3 separate regions of the Homo sapiens genome follow, and all the other regions are linked to region 1. Evidence: promoter capture Hi-C in 16 types of primary human blood cells and fetal thymus (Javierre and others, 2016). All regions are on one chromosome and are shown on one strand. Each heading gives the region's core, a stretch centred on a gene start or on the middle of the fragment in contact. The rest is flanking DNA. Distances are from core to core; before and after follow the strand shown.

Region 1 (3,291 bases), core at 1-2,500:
CTCCTTGGACGACTTAGTCCGGCTGCGGTGGGCCTTCGAGTCCCGGTCCTTGCGGCTGCTACTGCTGCTGGATGTGGCCGAAGCGCTTTTCCGGCGGCCGCCGCTGCTGCTGCTGCTGCCGCTCTTGGCGACCTCGGCCCGTTCCTCGCCGCTGTGGCTGTGGCGGCTGCGGGACTTGGAGGCCTCGCTGCCACCGCGCTGCCCATCCCGCCGCCGGTGCTCGCGGTGGCGCTCCTTGCTGCGGCCACTGCTGCTGCGGCGGTCCCGGCGGGGCCTGCGCTCCGACCCCTCCCCGCGCCGCTGGGTGCCGGAGGAGGAGGCCGGACTCCCGCCGCTGCCCCCCGTTCCCCCGGCAGCCGTCGCCGCCGTTGCCGCGCTGGCCCCCCCCAGCAGCAGCCCCTGCTCGGACTGGGAGCTCACATCCTCGTATTCCACCAGCGGGGTCACACCCCCGCCGCTACTAGCACCGCCACCGCCGTCCTGCTGCGGCTGGGGCAGCGAGAAGACCCGACGCTTCTCCGCCTCCTGCCCGGCGCGGGGCCCGCGACGCCGCTTCTGCCGCCCTCCTGCGCGCCTCTTGCCTCTCGCCAGCCGCTTGACCTCCAGAGGGGGGCCCGGGCTGAAGCAAGAGGAGGAGGCCGCGGCGGCGGCGGCTGCGGCGGCGGCCGTGCCGGGAGCAGCCAGGAAGAGCAGAGGCGGCGGGGGCGGCGGCGGTTGCAGGAGCTGCGGCTGCAGGAGCGGCAACAGCAGCGGCGGCTGCTGAGGGGACAGGAATCGCCTCCGCTTGCGGCGTTCCTCCAACTTCTTCTCCGCCCAGCTCAGGCCCCCGCCTCCCCCCAGCGCCGTGTCCGAGCTGCTCGGCATCGCCTAGAGCCAGCCGCAGAGCGCGGCGCGGGTGCGGCCTCCTCCCGGGTCAGATCCTGGCCATCTCCCCCGCCGGAAACGGGAGCGGCGGCGGAGGGACACCGAGCACCAGAGCCGGCCGGGAAAAGCGCCACGATAATCCGGGTCGGGACTCGGGTCCCTGGGTTCCAGGTCACAGTGGGGTACGCAGCAGCCTCCGGGCCCCAGGGAAGCAGGAATCCGGGCGGCGGAGCTCCCGATTGCGCTCGTCGTCCTATCCTCGGCAGCGAAAACACCAGATGCGCCGGGCGCTGACCTGCGGGGGAGTCCCGAGTCCTCCAAGTGCCCCCGGGGGTGGGGGAGCGGCCTTGGCCGCGCTCTCGGCTCGGGCAGCGCAACGCGGAAGTACCACCTTCGTCGCCGCTTCACTCCATCGCGCCCTGACGTTGGGTGCAAGTTCAGGGGAGGGGAGTGGGCGAGACAACAACACGCCTCCACCGCCTCCTCCTCGGCGTCGACGTCGTCCTCCTGTGGTGGCGGCGACACACCGCAGGCGCCTCGGAAGTGGCCTGGGCCTGACAACAACTCCCGGCCTAGGGCCTCGCGCACTCTGCGGCCCGCGGGGCTGGGCAGCGGGGCGGGGCGAGGCGGGGGCGACCGGGCTGCGGCTCTCGGTTGGGGCAGCGACTGTGCGGGGCTGGGCGGGGGGCTATTTCCGGGGAGATGGGGGCAGGGGCGTTTCTGAGTCTGTGGCGGTAGGTACGGGCCCTGACTTTCTTCTTCTTTCGCCGCCGCCGCCGCCGCCAGCAGAGGTGGCGGAGCTACCCCTTTCCTCCGCTCCCCCCCTCCACGAGGAGGCTCCTGGTGTGCGCGGCCTGCCCCGGCTCGCTCCTCCCCTTCCCTCTCCGCTCCTCGTCAGGAGGAGGGAGAGCAACGGGACTTGCTGGTTGGGCCCTAACCTCCACAACCCCTCCTTCTCGCCTCGCTCTTTCGGCTTTTCCCCTCAGCCCTGACGTACGACCGGGAGCGCGCCCGCAATTCACGCTCAGAGAAAGCCGAAGATGAGAGGTGGCCGGGGCAAGAGAGGCGGGAACAAAGTTACCGCGCACTGGCGTGCTCGCTCCCGCCAGGGGCCGGCAGGCCGCACCGGAAGTGGCATGATGTAGAAACCGCTCGGCTTCCGGCGAGGGTGGGACTCCGTGTGAAGAAGGGTTAAAGAAAGGAGAGGATTCGTGTGCCGCCCACTGCTGTTGCTTGAGACTCTGCCCGTGGTGGCGCGCCTGTCGTGCTTGTTGCTTGCGTCCAGCGCGCAGTGCCGGTTCCGGCTCTGCAGACGCCGCACTGCCTGCCTGTTGAGCGAAAGGTCACAGTGAGAACAAGTGTTTCTGGAGACTGCGAGGGAAATAATGCTGTTGGTGGCCTTCTGGAGTAGGCAGTTACCCCCCGTGTACCTTCAGTCAAGCCCTGGGAGTGGAACAGCTGCGAAAGGAGAGAAAACACCCCGCAAAACAGGGTGGAGATGGCGTTGGTTTAACTTGTCTCACGTACGCCAAAGTTCGAGGCCCCATTTTTTTTTTTTTTTTTTTTGAGACTGAGTTTCGCTCTCGTTGCCCAGGCTGGAGTGCAATGGTGCGATCTCGGCTCACCGCAACTTCCGCGAGGCCCCTTCTTATCCTAAAAAACACACTTGGGAATCACAGCTCAAGCTTCGGTAACACTATTTACTTTAAAATAAAAATTTTTAAAGCTTTAAATCAATACAGGAAATAAGTGGAATGTTAAAAGGAACTACTGAAAATTCCAAATTCTCAGGAGGCTTGAAATAAAAACATCTTGTGCGAATGAGGACTGCCCTCTTAGTACTTCACCCACTTTCACCTTCATATCTAAACCTTTGGGGTTGCCAAACATAGCCATATAGTGACCTCACATCTCATTTCTTGCCTTAGAATTGCCCTTCAGTTACAGACTAAGCACTCGGGATAATTAGATTAAAATGTAAATGGCTTATTGGCTTTTAGAATGGTTGGAAACGCAAGCTAACCCTGTGCAGTGGCACACGCCTGTAGTCCCAGCTACTCCGGAGGCTGAGGCAGGAGGATCTCTGGAGCTCAAGAGTTCGAGGCTGGAGTGAGCCATGACCGTGCCACAGCACCCCAGCCTGGCCAATCAGCAGGGCGAGGCCCTGCCTCTAATAAAAGAAAAAGCTAAGCCGTCTGTTCAATGACTAAATGTAGTAACCCCTTTGAAAATTCATTTGTTCAGATCATCAGTTGGTTTAGTTCTTAAACACTTGGTATCTATCCATCGTTAATACCTTAGTGTAAATTATTTTAATCAGTTTGACATCACAGTATCACAGACTGGCCTGATTTAAGCTAAGATCAGACTTCACTGACCGAGTACAAAGGATGTTGGTTTGCTGAAGGATAAAGGAGGAGGCAAAGG
Region 2 (3,291 bases), core at 592-3,091, 3.0 Mb before region 1:
TTACAGGTGTGAGCCACCGCGCCCAGCCCACATACTTCTTTTGATCTTAAGAACTCTTAAAAATACACAAAGTTCTCTAACACTTAACAACTGGCATTTATTTTCAGTATGTCCACAAGTATTGCCAAGCATGCCCCGGTGATTAACAACACAGGCTCAGGACTGTCTGTGAACTTGGGACCATTGTGAGCCTACTGTTTCAGTTGGAAAGTGTATACACCTAATGGGACTGTTGTCAAGATTATCCCAGGAAGTACATGTAGAAAGCTTGGCACATTGCTTGGCATATAGTGGCATATATTTTCTTGGTATATTTCTGGATATTATCACTTTCAGGCTGCTTAGAAATTGAGTAGAATGTAAATGCCAAAGCCATGACAGTTTCAACATCCAAGATACTTCCAATTAAAATTAATTCCAAGTGAAACATGGGAAACAGAATTCAGCTCCTCAGAGCTCAAACACCACAGAAAACATGTACTGCGCGGGAGGGAGGGAGGAAGGGAGGAAAGAAGGGAGGGAAGGGAAGGGAAGAGGAGAGGGGGGAGAGGGGAAGCGGGAGGGGAGGTGAGGGCAGGGCTGGAAAGGAAAGACAGATCCAGAGAGTGGTGAGCCTTGATGCCAAGTGAGACCTGCAGAACTGTCCTCTCAGGACAACTCTGTACAAATCCCTGAACTCCACAGACTTGACCAAACTCTAGCATAGTTTCTAGCAGCATAAGGCTGTATCCTAGGATGACCTCGGCCCCCCCTTTAAAGTGCCTGCCTGAGAAAGCTCAACGCTGCCTGGAAAATTTCCTATTTATTTTGGCCAACATACCCCGATAGTAGGTCCCGAACTCCCTTAGAGCATTTCCTGGAAAGGGCATATAATTGTAAATACGTATCCCTTGCAACTAACTCGGAAGCTTTTCTTTCAAGGCCCTGAGAGCCATTCCTTCGAAATCTAATCATTAGGAAGGATAGGGCCTTTGTCTCCCAGTCTCTGCGGGAGGATAGAATTCTCCCTAAGACAACTGCGAGCTAGCAGACACAGCCGGCTAATCACATTTGCACTGACTTCACTATACTACACTTCTCTGACTCTACAGAGCCCCTACACTCCCGCCTCGCTCATTCTCCCTTTAAAACGCCCAAAGTCACCTCTGCACAAACCGGGATGGAGCTCAGCTCTTTACCTGCAGTAGTTACTGAATAAAATCTGTTTTCAGCGCTTTACTTACTGGCTGGCTATGATTTATCTTTGACACAAGCTTGGGTTACATTCTGTGTACGAATGGAACAAGCAGAGGAATTTTTTTTTTTTTTTTTTTGCGGTGGAGGGAGCGCAAAAACAGTCGTTCTGTTCTCGCTAATATGGGAATGTCACGAACTACGTCCCCGACATGAGGCCGCGGATCAGAACCGGGGCTGAGGGCGAACTGTGTAAGCTGCGTCTGCTACGCTGCCCGAGGTCCCGTCATCAGCCCCCTCTCCCACGGAGCCCTTCTTTACCTACCCCACGGAGGACTGGGAAAGCCCGGCCGGCTCTGCGGAAGCTTCCGTAGCAGTCGCTCCCAGTAGTTTCGAAGCACTCCCCGGGCCGCAGACCACGGCGAAACCACCAAGACCAGCATGGCCAGCGCCATTTTCCCTGCTGGAAGACCGCCCCGGTCCCGCCCCTGCTTTCAGCATGCGCACAGGCACAGAATCGGGCAAGCCTCGCTTCTTAGAACTACAACACCCCGCATGCTCTTGGAGCAGCTCTGACTCTCCTCCAATCATAGAGAGTAAAGGAAAGGTGAGGGGCGGGGAAATGAAAGGAAATCGGCCACAGTGCGCATGTGTGCGGCTGTGCTTTGGCTCTTCGGGTAAAGATGGCGGAGCGCGGGTACAGCTTTTCGCTGACTACATTCAGGTATGGAAGGGGCCCTCGAGGTCTTCAGCGTAGTCGAGGTTGCTGGTACTCTGTCGATTTAGTTTTTCCCATCCTGACGTCGGCATTGGTGCTTCTGGAGGGTCCAGTAGGGAATGGAGTTGGAAATGCGGCTTTGCAAAGTCATTTGCCAGGCCGACCCGGGATTCCTGGAGCTTCCTTGGTCGGAGGCTGCTGGAGGGTCGGGGGGATGCGGTTTTGCGGGGTTAACATGGGGCTGCGGGACGGTGAGGCACATAGCCAAGGATTCGCTTTCACTTTGGAGACCAGAAAAGAAGGCAGTTTTAGCTTAACCATCTCTGGGTGGCCCGTTCCGAACTCAGGATTTTTTTCCTGGCTCAAGTAGACCTGATGCGGTGGTTTCTGAAACTTGGAATCTTGGTCAAATATGTGGGGTTCCCTTTTCTTGGAAAACTCTCAGCTTTACAGTTAAGTCGGAGTCTTGGTCTCCATTTGGCACTAGTGTCTTTCAAAACCTCCCGCTTTCGGTTTCTTCGATGCACGAATTAGAAACATAAGGACTAAAAACCGAAAGCCCCTATCACTTTTTTGTGAACCCCTAACAACGAGGCAAGTTTGAGTTTTGGTCTTTTTTTGGTGGACTGGGGGGAACGTCGGGGAGGGGGATGTTTACTTTAAACAAGATTGTAGGTTTTTCTATTGTAGAAAAGGGGATTAGAATAATAAGTTTACTTTCCAAAATACAGTTGGGGCGAACCATGGCTCTCAACGTGAGAAAACCATCGCCGAAGACTTTTAAAAATTGACTGGGGAAGTTTTCTGACTTACCCATTTTCTTAAGGATCAGTAATGCCCAGTTTACTTAAAATGTACTCCTGACAACTGAAGGCAGGCGGGATCTAACTTGTTGAGTACTTTGTTAGGTGCAACTTAACCTTAACCTGCTCCATCTCTTTCCACTGCTATAATGAATGTTATCTCAGCTTCTTACAGATGAACTAACCGCAGCTTGTACAAATTAAACAACTTGTCTAAGGTCATCGGTGAGTAGCTGAGTTGACATTCAAACTGGGTTTTTTTTCTGATAACAAAAATACACTTTCCATTACATAACGTTGTCTTAAATTCCAAAAGTACTTTTCTCTTGGCAGTTTTCAGTAAGCAGTGGGTGTATGTAATAGTTTTTTTGTAACCTTTGAACGAGATTAATTTAATTATGCAATAAAAGGTCTCATTATATTACATATGACAGAATAGTGTGTGCAGGATGTATTCACTGTTCCTATTTATGAAGAAAACAAATGTGGTCCTTTTTTTAGGGACAGGGACTTGGCAGCCTCCAGCTCTTGGGCTCAAGGGATCCTCCTGCCTCAGTCTCTGGAGTAGCTGGGACTAGAGGTGTGCACCACCCTGCC
Region 3 (3,291 bases), core at 374-2,873, 2.5 Mb after region 1:
TGCCTTAGCTACAAGGTTGTAGATCAAATTCATACTTATCACTACAAGTGTCTCAGAGCATCGTTAGTAAAGGCTCCATTTACTGACTACTTATTAAATTACTTCATTTAATAGTTGGTGCTATTGACTTTTGTTATTATATCATTACTGTTTTATAGATGAGGAAATACAGAAGTTAAGTTGCTTTCCTGCAGTCACCCTGCTTTAGTTACTGGCTTATAACCATCTGGACCCAGGCACTCTTGATACTAATACTGCCTCCCAGAGTCATGCGTATAATAAGGAGTTAGATCAGAGCTGTTCATTAAAAGTATAAGGTGAGCCACTAATGAGAGCCTATGTGTAGCCTTACATTTTCTAGTAGCTACATCAGAAAATGTAAAAAGAAACTGGTGAAATTAATCTTATATATGCTTATATCTTAACCCAACACATGACGAATCCAACTGACTTACTACATCAGACTATTCTCATGTATTGCAATAATGTAATCAACATAAACATACTTAACAAGTTAGTTTACATTCATTTTAAAAATACTGAATTGTATGTCTGTTTTACACTTACAGAACATCTCAGGGATAGCCACATTTCAAGTGCTCAACAGCTGCCTGTGGCTCTTGAGGGGGAAGATCTTAAAAGGGAGCTTAGTTTTCCACCTTGATTCTGATGCCTCCCTGCCCCCGACTTATTTCCTTTGCCAATTAGAAGAAAATGCCGAACTGCCTTTGACTTTTCCGGTAGAGCCAATGTAGGTATTTCTGAACTGGGGGAGGACAGGTGGTTCGCCTGCAACCCTCTTCCCTCCTGCCAGCTAGGCTGGGAGTTAACGTTTTTGATTTCTGCTTTGAAAATGATTTAAGTAGGTTGCATGAATTAAGTAATTTATTCTAAATATCAAATTATGGGTGGAACGTCTTGCCTTATGCAAAGTTATGCAAAATTAGGAAGTCCCTGGCTTAATTGGTTAGAAATACATCTTGTAGTTTCAATTGCAGGGTTAGTAAATACATAGATGTCGACGGAGAGGGAGGAAACTTTTTTTTTTTTTTTTTGCCACTCTGTCCAAGGGTAGAGGCACAGCGTCAAAACAAACACGTCTTAAAGTAGCGTTCAAACAGCCCACCGAAGTTTCCCCTTAATATCCGGAACCGGTTGCCAAAAATTAAAAAAGGATGTGAAAAGATGCTACTCGCTTTTGGCCTCCCGGAGATGGCGCTATGAGGGTGACGGAGTTAATTAGTGCCTCCAAACGCCGTGTGTGAGCTCATCGAAGTCATGCTCTGCACACATATTATTTATAGCAGATCTGAGGCATGCATGGTGTTTGACATTTCTGTCTTTTAAGTAGGGGGACTTCAAAAAGTCGTGGGCATCCCCCTAGGCAAAGTGCAGTGGGCAGGGACCAGGCAGGGTGCGGGCGCAAGGCGAACGCGCAGACCACGAGTGTCCTGGCGCAGGTGCCGGGGGCGGCGGCTGCAACTCCGCAGCGTCCGCTCGGGAGGAGAGTTCGCGGCTGATCTCCGGATGCCTTGCAGATGCAAAATGTGTCTCTGGCCAGCAGGAGGAAGGAAGAGGAAGTGAGAGCAGCGGCAGCCGGCGGTGCAGCAGCCGGCCGACCCAGAGTGTAAGTGCGTGTGCTGGGGCGAGCGGGAGCGGGCGAGGATGGGCACAGGATAGAGGCAGAGCCACCCACGCCGCCGCGGCCCCACGCTGGGCGACAGAGCCTCCAGTTCCCCTTCAATGGTGGCGGGTCGCCGGAGCTCTGATCGCCGGGAACCCTTGCCGCTGCTGTCCTGCGACCCCAAGCAGGTTCGTAAAGTTTCCTGGGCTGGCGCCGCGCCCCGACTCGCTGACCTCGGCGCGGCAGGGGAGGGGGCCGGGACTGGGGCCGGGAGGAGGCGTCCTGCTCCGGGGGACTCCGGGCGCCGCGGAGACACTTTTGTTTCCTCCCTGGGGGCGCCGCGGCTCGGGCGGGGGTGGCCGCCGCGCTCGGCAGGGTGAGGGCTGCGGGCGCGTCGGGGCGCTCTGCAGTTGGGGAAGTCTGAGCTCCGGGGATGGCGGGAGTGGGAGTGGGAGCGGAGGGAGGGGGCGCTGGAGGTGCGGCGCCCGCGGATGAAGCGCAGGGCCCGGGGCCCGGGAGCCCGCCGAGACATTTCGACCAGGGTCTGCGGGAGGGGGGGCGCGGGAGGGTTGCGACGCTGGCGCGGGGTTACTGGGGACGGGGGATGTGGGGCTGGGATCTTGGAGTCAAGATTCCTATAGAGCTAGAGAAGCGGCTGCGGCTCAGACTCGGCGTCTTCTCCTGCACTCGGGGATGGGAGGGAATCCCCCGGCGAGCGCGCTCGTGGGAGGGGGCGGTGATGGGCCAGAGGAATGGGGGCCAGGAGGGCCGGAGAGGGCGGTCTGGGCAGCCGGGAGCCCCTGAGGTTCTGGTTAGTAAATACTCTCCTCCCGGGGACACACCGGGGTCTCCGCCGAGACCGAGAGAGGCGGCGGGGAGCTTTGTGGAGCTTCGTGGAAATCTCGGCTTCGGAGAGGGGACGCACCGGGCGCGCCTTCAGAGAAGGGGGCGGCGGCATGCCAGGGGGCCCGGGAATCGGAGCGGAGAGTGGCGACTGCGATCGCCGGAGTCGCTTTGAGGAAGAGGAAATACAGAACTCAGCTGTCCCGGGGGTGCGCGCGTGTGTTTGGGGTTGGGAAGTCGGTGCTGTGCCGCGAGCGCGCGCGAGGCGGCGTGTGTGTGTGTGTGTGTGTGTGTGTGTGTGTGTGGTGTGTGCGCGCGCGCGTATGTATGTGTGTGTGGTGTGTCGTCGGTGTGTGTGTGAGTGTGTGTGTGTGGGGGGGGTGTTGTGGGTGTGTGTGTGAGTCGGTGTGTGTGTGTGTGACCGCACAGCCAGGAACTCCCCGCCCAGTGACCCTCTCCCGCCTAGGGGGCCATTTGAAGTTGGAGGCGGGTCGGGACCTGCCTTGACCTAAAGGACCAGCCTCAGGCTTGGTCCCAGGTAGTGACCCAGCTCTGAGAGTCCCTGGACGGCTCCCGAGACTCAGTGAATATATTTGGGATGCCCCCCGCGCTGGATCATGGGCTTCCCAACACCGCTGGCCTTGAATGATTCGGGCCTAATTCGTTATGGTTAAGATTTCAGATAATCTAAGACGGGTTGAGGCCTCCAGAAGCGGAGGCTTCCTGTTGGGCGCTGCCAGTGACTTGGGGATGAAGCTATGGAAGAATATCTGAGTGTTTCTCTTTTGCTTCTATAAAAGTAATTAATGACCTGTATTTACACA

What was found. Contacts are between HindIII fragments. The CHiCAGO score rates a contact against its expected background, and 5 or more counts as called.
Region 2: the fragment with the promoter of PSMA2 here is called in contact with the fragment with the promoter of CDK13 in region 1 in 2 of 17 cell types (total B cells and fetal thymus); the score reaches 7.1 in total B cells.
Region 3: the fragment with the promoter of ELMO1 here is called in contact with the fragment with the promoter of CDK13 in region 1 in 1 of 17 cell types (total CD8 T cells); the score reaches 7.6 in total CD8 T cells.

What each region holds. Positions count from the first base shown.
Region 1 is chr7:39,948,215-39,951,505 of GRCh38, reverse strand. It overlaps CDK13 (cyclin dependent kinase 13), which reads right to left and starts at 1,250. Exons shown (of 14, transcript NM_003718.5): 1 at 1-1,250. The coding sequence starts at 864. It overlaps CDK13-DT (CDK13 divergent transcript), which reads left to right and starts at 2,087. Exons shown (of 1, transcript NR_158201.1): 1 at 2,087-3,291. RefSeq lists enhancers at 1-42, 1,183-1,462, 963-1,881, 1,933-2,182, 2,253-2,382 and 3 more and silencers at 253-312, 383-672, 1,463-1,692. The HindIII fragment of the contact is 3,453 bases long and covers 1-2,551 here.
Region 2 is chr7:42,930,724-42,934,014 of GRCh38, reverse strand. It overlaps PSMA2 (proteasome 20S subunit alpha 2), which reads left to right and starts at 1,841. Exons shown (of 8, transcript NM_002787.5): 1 at 1,841-1,897. The coding sequence starts at 1,857. MRPL32 (mitochondrial ribosomal protein L32) reads right to left here and starts at 1,639. Exons shown (of 3, transcript NM_031903.3): 1 at 1,499-1,639. The coding sequence starts at 1,628. RefSeq lists an enhancer at 1,461-1,690. The HindIII fragment of the contact is 5,414 bases long and covers 1,541-3,291 here.
Region 3 is chr7:37,447,196-37,450,486 of GRCh38, reverse strand. ELMO1 (engulfment and cell motility 1) reads left to right here and starts at 1,623. Exons shown (of 22, transcript NM_014800.11): 1 at 1,623-1,812. RefSeq lists silencers at 1,874-1,923, 1,934-1,983. The HindIII fragment of the contact is 5,071 bases long and covers 1-3,291 here.